Regions from separate parts of the Homo sapiens genome. Here region 1 is linked to region 2. The links are contacts of gene promoters, found by promoter capture Hi-C in human tissues and cell types (Jung and others, 2019). All regions are on one chromosome and are shown on one strand. Each heading gives the region's core, a stretch centred on a gene start or on the middle of the fragment in contact. The rest is flanking DNA. Distances are from core to core; before and after follow the strand shown. Region 1 holds the start of IRF3 (interferon regulatory factor 3). Region 2 holds the start of TMEM143 (transmembrane protein 143).

The links. The method cuts DNA at HindIII sites, captures the fragments that hold promoters and counts their contacts. A contact is called where the count stands out against the background at its distance.
Region 1: the fragment with the promoter of IRF3 here is called in contact with the fragment with the promoter of TMEM143 in region 2 in 1 of the 25 tissues and cell types used here (hippocampus).

Annotation. Positions count from the first base shown.
Region 1 is chr19:49,660,610-49,668,134 of GRCh38, forward strand. IRF3 (interferon regulatory factor 3) reads right to left here and starts at 5,248. Exons shown (of 8, transcript NM_001571.6): 1 at 5,022-5,248; 2 at 4,065-4,237; 3 at 2,734-2,905; 4 at 2,579-2,649; 5 at 1,816-2,008; 6 at 1,339-1,719; 7 at 104-219. The coding sequence starts at 4,229. BCL2L12 (BCL2 like 12) reads left to right here and starts at 5,324. Exons shown (of 7, transcript NM_138639.2): 1 at 5,324-5,458; 2 at 6,076-6,190; 3 at 6,410-6,552. The coding sequence starts at 6,084. RefSeq lists silencers at 5,227-5,376, 5,417-5,496. The HindIII fragment of the contact is 43,433 bases long and covers 1-7,525 here.
Region 2 is chr19:48,358,882-48,365,985 of GRCh38, forward strand. TMEM143 (transmembrane protein 143) reads right to left here and starts at 5,059. Exons shown (of 8, transcript NM_018273.4): 1 at 5,017-5,059; 2 at 4,410-4,650; 3 at 1,191-1,295. The coding sequence starts at 5,039. It overlaps SYNGR4 (synaptogyrin 4), which reads left to right and starts at 5,486. Exons shown (of 5, transcript NM_012451.4): 1 at 5,486-5,656; 2 at 6,855-7,054. The coding sequence starts at 6,962. RefSeq lists enhancers at 4,611-4,660, 5,141-5,260, 5,631-5,780. The HindIII fragment of the contact is 11,146 bases long and covers 1-7,104 here.

The DNA of each region.
Region 1 (7,525 bases), core at 3,998-6,497, 1.3 Mb after region 2:
GCAGTTTTTTAGAGGGCCCTCTGGGAGTTGGAGTTCCTGGGAGCAACCTCTTCCCTCTGTAAGGCCACCCCTTTCAGCCCCAGGGACTCAGGTCTGCAGGCACCTTGACCATCACGAGCCTCTTGGTCCACGGCTGGTCCTGGGGCCATGACTCCCCCACACAGAACCAGAGGGCATAGCGTGGTGAGCGTCCGCTTCCTTCCGTGAAGGTAATCAGATCTGGGGGCCCAGGAGCCTAGTCAGGGATGAGAAGAGGACCCTCTACCCACCCTTCCCCGTAAACTTGAATGATAACCCCCACCACCTCCCCTGACCTAAGGCCCTCTGCTGCCTCGACCAGGGGACTGCTTGTTTGGGGAAAGTCCCCTCCTTCCCTCCCTCCCTCCCTCCCATCAGGGTGGGGTTGTTGGAAGGCCACACCCCCAAGCCCCCAAGCCTCAGCATTCATAACAGGCCCAGAGTAGGGGGCCCATGCTCCCAAGGATGCTCAGTGAATCTGGAGAAGCTGGTTGGCATTCAGTCCTGTCTGAGGCTGCATTGTCCAATTGCAGCCATTAGTCATGTAAGGTTATTTCAGTTTAAATTGTAACCAATTAAAACGAATCACGTCCTGGTTGCACTCGCCTCACCTGAGTGCTTGGCCCCTGTGGCTAGTGGCTGCTGCACCGGACAGTGCAGGTGACTGTCATTTCCATCATGGCAGAAAGTGCCACTGCACAGCGAAACCCTAAGGGATGTAGCTTTCCTGCTATTGGTCTGTTCACCATCATTAGTTACGATGATGATGACAGTGGCAGCTAATTCCCTGAGCAGGCTCTGTGTACTGGGCCTGTGTCTCACCCCAGCGCTGGCAGGCAGGTAGAGAGAGGAGACCATCCTTGGATTCCACGGGCTCAGGGCAAAGTCCTTTGCCTCGGTTATACAGCGGGCCAAGGGCAGCCAGCGTCTGAATTCAGTCCTAATCATGAGTTCTTTTTTTTTTGTTGTTCGAGATGGAGTCTTACTCTGTCACCAGGCTAGAGTGCAGTGGTGCGATCTCAGCTCACTGCAATCTCCGCCTCCTGGGTTCAAGCAATTCTCCTGCCTCAGCCTCCCGAGTAGCTGGGATTACAGGCACGTGCCACCACGCCCGACTATTTTTTTGTATCTTTAGTAGAGATGGGGTTTCACTATGTTGACCAGGCTGGTCTCGAACTCCTGAACTTGTCATCTGCCCACCTCAGCCTCCCAAAGTGCTGGGACTACAGGCGTGAGCCACCGTGCCCGGCCAATCCTGAGTTGTTAACCACTGTGCAGGCTGCTTTGTACTGGCCAGGTCGAAGCCCCTGTCTCACTCACCTACAATGAAGGGCCCCAGGTCAAACACGCCTCCTTCCTTGTCCTTGGGGACCTCGCCATCAGGCCCATGCCCGCTGTTGGGGAGCAGCTCCTCGCTCACTGCCCAGTATGTGTGGCAGTGCCCCAGCCGCTGGGCCCAGAGCCACTGCCCGGCCCGCCAGAGAGCCAGTCCCCCACCCAGGCAGCTCAGCACATGCCTCACGTAGCTCATCACTCCCCTGTCTGTCAGGGACATGCCAGGGTCTGGCAGTGTGACTGGCCATCCAGGCAGCGTCCTGTCTCCCACTTCGGACCCCACCAGCCGCAGGCCCTCCGGGCAGGAGATGGTCTGCTGGAAGACTTGGCGGCCCCGGTAGAAGGCTGTCACCTCGAACTCCCACTCTGAGCAGCGGCAGCAGCGGCATGAAGGGGAGAGGGGTTGAGAATCAGGGGCTGCCGCCCAGACCTCAGCCCTCCCAGCCTGCAGCTGACACTCACCTTCCCCCGGCACCAACAGCCGCTTCAGTGGGTTCTCAGAGGGCCCCAGGTTTGGGAAGGGAGTGGGATTGTCCAAGCTGGGGCTCCGCAGGGGCTGAGGGCAGGGCTCAGGGGCTACAGCCAGGCTTGGGGGTCCCGGATCTGGGAGTGGGGCCAACACCATGTTACCCAGTAACTCATCCAGAATGTCTTCCTGGAGGGAAACAAAAAAAGAGAATCAGGCATTTCCATATCCTTTTCTGGAGACTTCATATGGACCAGGTCTGTTCTCAGCAACGCAGGGAGGTCAGGCTTGAGCTCTGCCTTCAAGGGGCTTCCAGCCTGGGGACAGAGCCAGCCATGGCATCAACAGCCAAACAAACACTAATGAACGCCAGGTGCTACCATTCCAACCCAAGGATCTGGCTCTATGCAGGTAAGACCTGGGCAAAGCAGGCTGGGTAGAATTTCAGAGGGGATGCTCCCCCAGCTTGGGCCTCAGCAGGATCAAGGTGAGGGAGTTTTTCAGTTCCCAAGAGGCTGACAGCCCCCTGCGAATCGAAATCCATGAAATCCCGGGAAGGTGTGCTCGGGCCTTGAATGCTGGGTGAAGACTTGGAATTTTCTCCTGAGGAGACCGGGGCAGGGACAGACAGGGTCAGCACTGGCTCAGGTGAGGGGCAGGCTGGAGGCAGGGGAGTGGGGGGATCGTCTAGAGGGAGAGGACAAGGCCCATGGAGACAGGTCGGAGACTGAGGGGCATGAAAGTTGGGCACATTCTCACCTGGGTATCAGAAGTACTGCCTCCACCATTGGTGTCCGGAGAGGTGTCTGGCTGGGAAAAGTCCCCAACTCCTGTTGAGAAAAGTGGTGAGGGGAGTAGGAGTGCCAGGAACCCTTGGGGCCCCAGCCTCCCACACGAACCCCAAGCTGGCAGACCTGAGTTCACAAACTCGTAGATTTTATGTGGGTCGTGAGGGTCCTTGCTCCGGTCCTCTGCTAAACGCAACCCTTCTTTGCGGTTGAGGGCAGAGCGGAAATTCCTCTTCCAGGTTGGCAGGTCTGGCTTATCCCTCCCGGGAACATATGCACCAGTGGCCTCGGCCCAGGCCTGGGGCAACAGTGGTGTCAGGATGGTGGGGGAGGACGACTTAGATCCTGCTCCTGGGGCCCTAACCCTGTCTCCCGAGTCCTAACACCACCCTCTTTCCCTGGCAAGTTCTAACTCTGCAAGGTCCATCCCCAAATCCCCCCGTCCCACCTACCTCCATCCCCCACCTCTAGTTTTCAAAAGGCTTTTTTTCTTTTTGAGATGGAGTTTCACTCCTGTCACCCAGGCTGGAATGCAATGGTGCAATCTCAGCTCACTGCAACTTCCGCCTCCCCGGTTCAAGCGATTCTCCTGTCTCAGCCTCCTGAGTAGCTGGGATTACAGGTGGGCACCACTACACCTGGCTAATTTTTGTATTTTTAGTAGAGATGGGGTTTCACCATGTTGGCCAGGCTGGTCTTGAACTCCTGACCTCAGGTGATCCGTCCTCCTCGGCCTCCCAAAGTGCTGGGATTACAGGCATGAGCTACTGTGCTCGGCCTCTTCAAAAGCCTTTGAAACCTCTTTGGTTTTTGTTTTGTTTCGCTTTTGTTTTTAAAGAGATGGAGCCTATGTTGCCCAAGCTGGCCTCAAACTCCTGGGCTCAAGCGATCCTCCCGCCTTGGCCTTGCAAAGTGCTAGGATTACAGGTGTGAACCACCGCCCCCGGCCCAAAAACCTTTTCTTTCTAAGCCAGGCTTCCAAGTCCAACTTGGTGTCTAATCCCGTGCACCACCTGCCCCGCGACACCCTCTGTGATAACCCCGCCCCTCACACTGTTTACCACCTCTGGCATATACTAATTCGGTAGTTAGGAACCTCAGATTTGGGGCTCCAGGCCTCACCTCTGATGTTTCAAGAACCATCCCCCAGTATCTATCCTACAACCAAGAGCCCCGGCCTCTAGAAAGCCCCAAACCCCCAGGATGCATTTCCTTTGCGTACTAACCGGCTTTCCCGGTTTTATTCCCGTAACCCTGCAGCTCCAACCCTGCTTGCGCCCCACCATCAGTCAGCGGATCCGGCTAGCCCCGCCCCTCCCGTTCTAGCCCCACCCACCAGCGTTGGCACGAGCCCGCCCCTCGCGCGCCACCTCCGCCTTCTCAGCCGGGCCCACTAGGAGTCCTTTCCGCCCAGCGCGCAGCTCCGGGTTTCCAGCGTCCCAGGTCGTCGCACGCACCTGGAAGATTCCGAAATCCTCCTGCTGTGCATCCTGCCGTAGGCCGTGCTTCCAAGGGATGCGGAAGCGCGTGCGGCTCTTGTTCACCCAGGCCACGCCCTCCAGTTGCCCCAGGTCCAGCTGCGACACCAGCCAGGGCAGGATCCGTGGCTTTGGGGTTCCCATGGTCCGGCCTGCGCGTATAGGGCATTTCCTGGGCGCGACCGGCCTCCCCCGGACCCACCTGGCCTGGAGTTTCCGCACCCAGACCTCCTTCTCACGGGCCACGGCACAGGTCCTTCACCCATATTTTCGGGGGTACAAACAGGAAACCTCCTCTTCCCATCCTCCCATCCTCCCGAGAGGCTCTCTAATCAGCTAGGGTTCCTTCCCATATCCATGGCACATCCTTCCCCAGCGTCTTCAGTGCAGACCCTCCACTCCCTCAATTCCGCCAGTATAGACCTCCTCCCTCCCCCACATCATCGAAAGTAAGTATCCCCACTTTCAGGGTAGCATCCTCTTTCCCTAGTTATTTCAGTGCAGAATCGATTCACGTGTAAGCCTCTACCTCCTGCACTTACCCCAATGTAGACCCCCTTCCACAGTCCCCCTACAGAAGATCTCCCAAAACATTTCCAACACAGAACTTCCATTCAATTCCCCTCCGACTGCCCGCCTCCCTCCTCCAGGACAGAGCACGCCCCAGGTTTCGAGACTGAACTACCCCCATCTACGGAGTCCACCCCTCCCTCTCTAGAACCCCCTCAGTGTAGACGCCTCCTCTTTTCCTCTTTCCTCCCTACTTTTTCTAGTTTTTCTGCAGCCGACCTCCAGCGTCGGCCACTGTAGCTCCTTCCTTGCTCCACTTTCCCCAGAGTACACAGCCTGCCTTTCCACTCTCCGTGCAGACCCATCCTCTTTCCCGCTCCTCGCTCTCGGACGCCACCAACGCTCTCCCGGGCTCTTCCGCGTTACCTACGATGGAAGGTCGGGGCGTGCGGGCAGCTGGAACCCACCCCTGTCTTGGAGCTCCGGGTAGCTCTCAAACTCGAGGCTGCGCACCCCCTTTCCCGTCAGCTGAGCTCTAGAGCGCTGGGGCTTTCTTTTTGATCGACTTCTTGAAATAAAACCAACTTTATCATTCTTTGGGTAACAGACCCAAAAGCCGATGGGACGGCCCGCTGGGCTGTTCCCGCCCCTATGCCCTTTTTTGGGTTTCCGGCCAGAGGCATGCTGGGAGCGTCACATGCAAATTGAGCGTGCACCCAGCGTTCCGCCCTTTCTACGCTGGGCCGGTTATCGACCCGGCCCAGTGCGCAGGCGCGGGAAAGTTGAACTAATAAAGTTTGTACGAGTTCAGTGGAGGAGACCGCAAGTTGAGTGGAGGAGGCGGCGGTGGGGCCCCGGACCAGGTCAGCGGGGTGTTGACGAGGGGTGGGGTGAGGAGGGAAGAGGAGGGGGCCGGGATCCAGTGGTGGGCACCCCAGTCCCGCTTCTCTGATATCCAAGGGTCCAGGGTCCTCTAGATTCCAGCAGGGGTCGGAGATTTGGAACTACACCTCACAGCAGGCTGCGCGGCGAAGAAGCGCGGACCTAGGGGAAGATTTGCCCTGAAACCTCTTGGGATTGGTAGTTCCCGATGCTTTAAGGGTTTCAGGAGTTTGGCATATGCCTCTTATAGAATCCAGGAGTTGGGGCGCTAAGCCTCTTCTTCCTGGGAGACCTAAGGGTCTGGGGCTCCAGTTCCTTTTTCTCTAAGACTCAGAAGTCCAGGACCCCAGCTCCCTCCTCCTTTAGACCCACGAATCTGGGCACCCAGCCCCACCACCTTTCCTTGGATCGAAGAGTCTTTTTCCTGATCGCTTTTTCGTCTGAGGACTCAAGAGTCTAGGCCCCCAGACCCACACTCTCCAAAGGACCCAGGAGTCCAGGCCCTCAGCACCTTCCTTGGGACTCACAAGTCCTGGTCCCCAAGCCTCCACTTCTTGCTAAACCCTTGGAGTCCAGTCCCTAACCCTCTCTCTCACAGGTGCCTCCATGGCAGGCTCTGAAGAGCTGGGGCTCCGGGAAGACACGCTGAGGGTCCTAGCTGCCTTCCTTAGGCGTGGTGAGGCTGCCGGGTCTCCTGTTCCAACTCCACCTAGGTAAGAGGAGTGGCCCTTCTCCCCCAGGGGCCAGCATTTGAGGCTCCCTCCTAACTCTTGCTCCTGGTCTCAGTCTGTCTCCTCTCTTTATATCTGGCTCTATTCTCTGTCTTTGGGGTTTTGGAGAGAGGTCCTCAGCGGGGGAGGGAGGGAGTTGGGGAAAGAGACTGCTTGCAGGGGATCTCTGGTGGGGTCAGTCTCTGAAGTCCTCCTCTCCAGAAGCCCTGCCCAAGAAGAGCCAACAGACTTCCTGAGCCGCCTTCGAAGATGTCTTCCCTGCTCCCTGGGGCGAGGAGCAGCCCCCTCTGAGTCCCCTCGGCCTTGCTCTCTGCCCATCCGCCCCTGCTATGGTTTAGAGCCTGGTAAGAGATTTCCATGATCATCTATGAAGCCGGCAGAACACGGGATAAGGTGCTAGTTTAAGATCACTCAGCTAGGGGGTGGCTGTGTGGAGTCTCTAGCACCAGCCTTCAGGACAGAACCGTCCTGTCCTCTCCCCTCCCCAGTTAGATTTCTGTCAATTCTGTGGGTTGGCTTTCAGAGAGCATTTGGTCAATCTGGTTGTTGTCTCTTTCCTTCCATAACTACTTCCCTGCCCCTAGGACTTTTGTAGCCAGGAATACCCCTGATAGAGGGGCAGAAGGGCTGGTTTTCAATCACATCTCCCTGGCTGTTTTAGTTGCGTGACTCTGGGGAAAATGCTTTCTCTTCCCTGCTCCCCTGTTTTTCCAATAGCAGAGTAGGAATTGGGGAGGAGGTCACTGGACTTGATCAAGGTGACCCACAAGTTTCCTCATAGGTGTGAACCTGGACAGACTAGTAATGGCTGCTGGGAGTGCTAGCTTGAAAAGGGGTTCACAGCTTGGGAGAGGAAGTGCTGTGATCAATTGGTGATGTCTGTAGTGAGTGAGGGAAGGGGATACTAACAGTAATGTCTTGTGTTTGCCTTCCTTGGATGAGATCATCTTCAAGGTCTAGTTGAGCTCTGACAGTCTTTTGGAGACAGATTGTTGCTCTGTCACCCAGGCTGGAGTGCAGGGGTGCAATCTCGACTCACTGCAATCCCCACCTCCTGGGTTCAAGCGATTCTCGTGCCTCAGCCTCCCGAGTGACTGGGATTACAGGTGCACGCCAGCATACTAGCTGATTTTTATACTTTTAGTAGACACGGGGTTTCGCCACGTTGGCCAGGCTGGCCTCAAACTCCTGGCCTCAAGTGACCCTCCCACGTCGGCCTCCCAAAATGTTGAGATTGCAGACGTGAGCCACCGCACCCTGTCAGCTCTGACATTCTTTTTTTTTTTTTTTTTTTTGAGACGGAGTTTCGCCCTTGTT
Region 2 (7,104 bases), core at 3,809-6,308:
TCCTCGGCCTGGCACAGTGGCTCACGCCTGTAATCCCAACACTTTGGGAGGCCAAGGCGGGTGGATCACTTGAGGTCAGGAATTCAAGACCACCCTGGCCAACATGGTGAAACCCAGTCTCTACAAAAAGTACAAAAATTAGCAGGGGGAGGTCGTGGACGCCTGTGGTCCCAGCTACTCAGGAGGCTGAGGGAGGAGAATCGCTTGAACTGGGGAGGCGGAGGTTTGCTGTGAGCTGAGATCGCACCACTGCACTCCAGCCTGGGCAACAGAACAAAAACTCCATCTGAGAAACAAAAACAAACAAACAAAAAAACAAAGCAAGGTCCTCACAGTGGCCCACAAGGCCCAGTACGATCTGTCCCCATCCCCTCTGCCCTCATATCCCACCCTCCCCGCACATTCACTCTCCTGCAGCCACAGTGGCCTCCTCACTGTTCAATACTCCAGGCCTCCACTCACCTCAGGGCCTTTGCACTTGCTCTTCCATCTGCCAAGAACATCCTCCCCCAGGCATTCATCAGGCTCGTTCCCCCTCTTCACTAAGCCTTTAGCCCACATGTCACCTCCTTGGGGAGCCCTTCCCCACCCACCCCGTCTGAAACAGGCCCCATCTCACCCCTCTTTGTTTTTTTTTTTTTTTTGAGACAGAGTTTCCTCAGTCGCCCAGGCTGGAGTGCAGTGGCGCAATCTTGGCTCACTGCAAGCTCCGCCTCCCGGGTTCATGCCATTCTCCTGCCTCAGCCTCCCGAGTAGCTGGAACTACAGTCGCCCCCCACCACGCCCAGCTAATTTTTTTGTATTTTTAGTAGAGACGAGGTTTCACCGTGTTAGCCAGGATGGTCTCGATCTCCTGACCTTGTGATCCACCCGCCTCAGCCTCCCAAAGTGCTGGGATTACAGGCGTGAGCCACCGCGCCCGACCCATCTCATCCCTCTTTATCTCACTACTCCGCCTCATTGTTCATGGCACTTATCACCACCAGGCATCATATTTTATATTTATTTGATTCCTTGTCTCCCCACTTGGAATGTTGGCTCCATGAGGGCGTCACTTCACCTGTCATGTTCACTATTGAATCCCCAGCACTTAAAATAAGGGCCAGGCTCCAAGAAGGTGTCAGGGAATGTTTGCTAAATGAGCGGATGCTCGAACAAGCACCACAGGGCTGGAAGGGCCCCGTCCTCACCTGCAGCCGGGCCAGGATTTGGTGGTAGTGGAACAGGGTGCAGAAGTCCACGTGGGCCGAGAACGCCTCCAAAGCCGCCTTCTCTGCCGGACTCGAGTGGAATTCCTGTTACCTCAGGAAGCAAAACTTCTCTGTAGGCCTTTTCCCCTTCCCCGAGGGAAAGAATTCTTTCCCTGGCTGCCTAACTACACAATCAGAGCTCTGGACTTTGAAGTTTTGTTCTGGGGCTGGGCGCAGTGTCTCGCACCTGTAATCCCAGCACTTTGGGAGGCCGAGGCAGTGGATCACTTGAAGTCAGGAGTTCAAGACCAGCGTGGCCAACATGGTGAAATCCTGTCTCTACTAAAAATACAAAAATTAGCCGGGCGTGATGGCATGCACCTGTAGTCCCAGCTACTCAGGAGGCTGAAGCTGGAGAATTGCTTGAACCAGGGAGGCGGAGGCTGCAGTGAGTCGAGATCGTGCCACTGCCCTCCAGACTAGACAACATCAAGACTCTGTCTCAAAAAAAAAAAAAAAAAAAGTTTTGTTTTGGTTGGGTGGGGGCTGACCAATTTTACTGAAACTGAGGCAGCCAAATATAGTGAAAAACTATACTGGGCTTAAAAAGCTGGAGGTTCAAGTTTTTGCTTTGACATTTCCTAGCCAATACACACACACACAATTCCAGGAACGGTTTGACAGTGTAATATCATCCTCCAGAAGTAGATGGAATTATTATTATTATTATGTTGAGACAGAGTCTCGTTCTGTCACCCAGGCTGGAGCTCAGTTGTGCAATCTCAGCTCACTGCATCTTCAACCTCCTGGGATGAAGCGATCCTCCCACCTCAGCCTCCTGAGTAGCTAAGACTACAGGTGCCCACCACCATGCCTGGCGAATTTTTTTCAATTTTTTGTAAAGGTGGAGTCTCACTATATTGCCCAGGCTGGTCTGAACTCCTGTGCTCCAGCAATCCTCCCACCTCAGCCTCCCAAAGTGCTGGGAGGCTGAGCCACCATACCCCCAAGGTTGATGGAATTATAACTCCCATTTGTCAGTGGGAGAAACTGAGGCTCTGGAAAAGTCATTTGGTAAGGGCTGCAGTGTCTGTGGGAAATGACTGCTATCTAGGCCTGTCTGACTCCAGGGTACACATTGAACCATTTCCTTTTTTTTTTTTTTTGAGAAGGAGTCTCACTCTGTTGCCAAGGCTGGAGTGCAGCGGCCATGATCTCAGCTCACTGCGACCTCTTCCTCCACGGTTCAAGCAATTCTGCCTCAGCCTTCTAAGTAACTGGGATTATAGGCGCCTGCCACCACGCCTAGCTAATTTTTGTACTTTTAATAGAGACGGGGTTTCACCATGTTGGCCAGGCTGGTCTCAAACTCATGACCTCAGGTGATCCACCTGCATCGACTTCCCAAAGTGCTGGGATTACTGGCGTGAGCCACCATGCCTGGCCTTGAACCACTTCTTCTTCTTTTTTTTTTTTTGAGATGGAGTCTTGCTCTGTTGCCCAGACTGGAGTGCAGTGGCACGATCTCGGCTCACTGCAAGCTCCGCTTCCCGGGTTCACACCATTCTCCTGCCTCACCTCCCAAGTAGCTGGGACTACAGGAGCCTGCCACCTCGCCCGGCTAATTTTTTGTATTTTTAGTAGAGACGGTTTCATCGTGTTAGCCAGGATGGTCTCAATCTCCTGACCTCGTGATCTGCCCGCCTCGGCCTCCCAAAGTGCTGGGATTACAGGCGTGAGCCACCGCGCCCGGCCTTGAACCACTTCTTTATGTTTCCTATGTCAATGTCCTGGGTAATTGTCTTCACTTCTCTGAGCCTCAGTTTCCTCACTGGCAACAGAGGATTACACGCTCTTTCTTGGAGGGCTACGGTGAGAATTTGATGAGATTACACATGTCCTATATACACATGTGTTTACATATATGTGCATATATTTGTATATTTATGTGTGTATATTTGTGTACTTTTGTGTGCATATATTTGTGTGTGCGTGTATTTGTGTGTGTGCATTTGTATGTGTATATTTGTGTATTTGTGTACACATATTTGTGTATTTGTGTGTGTACTTGTATGCATATACTTGTGTGTATTTGTGTGTGTGTATTTGTGTGTGTATCAAGTCCAGCACAGAATTGAGTACATACAGTAGGTGTTCAGTAAATAAATGTTAAATTAATGAATGATGGTGAGGTGTGGTGGCTCATACCTGTAATCTCAGCACTTTGGGAAGCCAAGATGGGCAGATCACTTGAGGCCAGGAGTTCGAGACCAGCCTGGCCAACATGGCAATACCCTGTCTCTACTAAAAATACAAAAATTAGCCAGGCAAGAGTCCCAGCCTCTCGGGGGCTGAGGAAGGAGGATCACTTGAGTCTAGGAGGCAGAGGTTGCAGTGAGCTGAGATTGTGCCACTGCACTCCAGTCTGGGCAACAGAGTGAGACCCTGTCTCACAAAAATAAATAAAGAAAAATAAATGAATAATAATCCTCAAAATCCTCAATAATGACAATGATGATGATGGTGGCAATAAGACCTCAGGTTCTAGAGTGAGACCAAGACTAGGATGAGGTGAATATGGCACCCAAGGGTGCAAAATTTAACGGGGCACTCACTCTTAGGGTCAAGCGAGTGCCCTACTTGCCTAACCCTAGTCCTGGGCCAGCTCTGGAGTCAGACCACTTTGGTTCAAATCTAAGCCACTATGTTGTGGCCTTGGGTAAGTCACTTTCCTTCCCTATGCTTCCATTATCTCATCTGTAAAATGGGGATGATGGTGGTATCTCTCTTACTGATGATTCAACAATACATGAAAAATGTCTGGCACAGTGCCATGGAGTCAGAGCTCAAATTGTGTGATAATAATTATGATTACAGCGTTGTGACTTTATAGGTACAATTATTATCAGGTAGTAGAAATAGTAATGATGAGGATGATTACTATACCCATCTTAAAGAGGGAAAAACCATGCCCCAGAGAGTGCCTGTTCAAGCCCTCAGAACAAGCCAGAGTTGGGAATGGATGCTGCGTCTGCATCTCGGAGACCTGGCTCCTGCATTCCAGCTCATCTCCCGCCCACTAGGGAAACACGAAGGGACCCGGGAACTACAACTCCCAGGAGGCGCCAGGGCAGCTCTCTGCAGCAACTAGGGCCCTGCCGCCGCGAAGCCTGCTGGGAGCCGTAGTCCCCAGGCTCTTGGGCCTGGGACAGGCGGTACCTGTATTAGGAGGCGGAGCAGCTGCTCCTTGGAGAAGGGAATGAAGCGCTCGCGGTACTGCTGGGCCCAGTCGCGGGGCTCCCTGGGGTTCCACATCTTGCGATACTCCCCCATTTTGGCTGCCAGCGATGAGAGGGCCCGGGGGGGCCCGAGGAGCGCGGGCAACAGTGGCCATACTCGGACCCTGGACCCCCAGACCCCCCGGGTCACATGCAGCATGGCTAGACCCTTTCCCCGGAGCCTAAACAGAGGAAAATGGGCAGGGGTCAAAGGCCATCTAGAGGAAAAGCGCCCTCTCCACCTCCACGTCCCACCCTCCAGAAGCCGTCTCTACCCCAGGCAGGGCGCAGAGCCCATCCGCTCGCCTCAAAGCCCCTGTTGCCTGTCCCCTTCCCACACTGCTCAGTTGGCCTGGGTCCCAGACAGGGGTCAGAGGTCTTAGGTTCTGGGGCGTTTTTCAGGCCCAGAGACCCTGTAGTGGTACAACGTTTCTTTGGGGTCTAGACAGCGAGGTAGATCTTAGGAGAGCAGGAAATGCTCGTAAAGGTTACCTAGGGGGTGCAGGGCCGCCCTCCCTGGCCATGCAATCCCCCGATTTCTCCCTCACCTTAGCCAAAGCTCGACTGTCATTGAGCCTCCTGCGCATGTGCAGGAGGGCGTCCTGGGCTCCCGAGGTTCGGCTTCACCCAGCAGTAAAACGCATGCGCAAAGCTTCGGTCAATGCGGGCTGTCCATTTCTCACCGCCGACTCCCTACATCAACTACGCATGCGTTGCCTGCCTTTCTCCACCGCCGGCCTCGTTTGGGCGCGACGCATGCGCCGCAGGAGTGTCTCCTTGTCAGCTTGCTACAAAGGGAAGGGGCGGTGTGGACGCGAGACTCCCTAGAGGGATGGGGCGGGGTAGGGCTCCCGCGCGCAGTCCGCCAACGGCGCGCAGTCCAACGTTCGCCGAGGCCACGCCCCGGCTCGTGTCAGCTCCTGAGTAGGCGGAAAGAGGGAGGGGGCGGGACTTGGGCGCAGCCAATCAGCTGTGGAGGAGCGAAAAGGCGGGAAAAAGCGGAACCAAAAGAAGGCTGAGGTGGCGCTAGGGACCAGGAGGGGTGGGGGTGGCGAAAGGAAGGGCGGGCCCTCAGGTGACGCAGATTGGCCCTCCAGAGAAGGGGCGGCCCCTTCTCAGGTGCCGTCACCCCCAAACCTCAGCACTGCCATTCCAGGTCCTTAAAGGGGAGACCGCGATTCTAAGAAGGTAGCCCAGTGCCGGGGCGTGGCCTCATTCTGAGGTTCCCCACAAATCCGAGGTCCCGACTCCCAGCTTGAGGAGGTGCACTTCCGTGAAAATGGAGCTGAATTCGAAAGGGAGGCCCTTATTCTGGGAAATGGCCCCAAGTGACAAGGACAGCCTGAAATATGCCCTGAGATACCTGGGTTCTCCACGAAGGGTGCTGTCACCCCCAAACCTGAAAGGGATTATTCGGTTTCAGACCTCCCAGGGGCTCTGATCTCAATGGCCGCACCCCCTAGTCCCCAGAAAGTCCCACCTGTGTCCTCTCACAGAAGGACCCAGTCCCTCTGCAGGCCCTTCAGCTCCTGGGTCACAAGACGTGGTCCCCAAATATCCCAGCCCTCCCCTGCACTCCACCTCTGGGATCCCTGACAGCCCTCTCGCCCAACAACCCCCTCAGCCCACATTCCTGACTTCTGGAACCTGAAGCAGCCCCTTCACTTATGTCCCCCACTCCTGGGACCCCCAGAATCACCCTCACCCCAGGCCCTCACCTCTCTGGAATCCTCCATAGACCCCCTTAACCCACACCTCAACCCAGGGGACCCTTAGCGACTCTCTCATCCTGCACCTCCACCTCTGTGACCCCTGGCAGCCCTCCCCACACGACACCTTGCCTGGGACCCCTAGTATCCCCATCCTATGCCCCCCTCTCCTGGGACCCCCAGAAAGCTCCCTCACCACACACAACCCCATTCCTGGGAACCCCCAGCACCCGCATCCTATGTCCCCCACTTCAGGGACCCCTAGCAGCCCTCTCCACACAACACCTTTCCTGGGACCCCCCAGAACCCCCATCCTATGCCTCCCACTTCTGGGACCCCTAGTAGCCCCCTCACCACACAACCCCATTCCTGGGACCCCCAGCACCCCCATCCTATGCCCCCCACTCCTGGGGCCCACAGAAGCCCCCTCAGCACACACAACCTCATTCCCTGGGACCCACCTGCACCCCCATCCTACGTCCCCGACTTCTGGGGCCCCTGACAGCCCATTCACCCCACACCCTGACTCCTAAGAGGCTCAGCAGTCCCCTCACCCCACACAACTCCATTCCGGGGACCCCCCCCATCCCCACCCCATGTCCCCCAATCCTGGGGCCCCCAACAGCCCTTCCACCCCGTGCCCCTGACTGGCATCCCCCATCTGTGTCATCCCACAGCAGCCAAGCCCAGGGCTGGCCTGAAGCCCCCGGACGGCAGTGCCCAGCAGGCAGCGCCCAGCACCCTGGCTCCCACCTCCCAGTGGCCCCAAAGGAAAACAGCTGCCATGCACATCCCCAAAAGCCTCCAGGAGCTGGCCAACAGCGAAGCCGTGCAGTTTCTGAGAAGGCCCAAGACCATCACGCGGGTCTTCGAAGGGGTGAGGCCCTCCCATGGCCCGACTGTGCCCCTGGGTGACAGGAGCCAGGA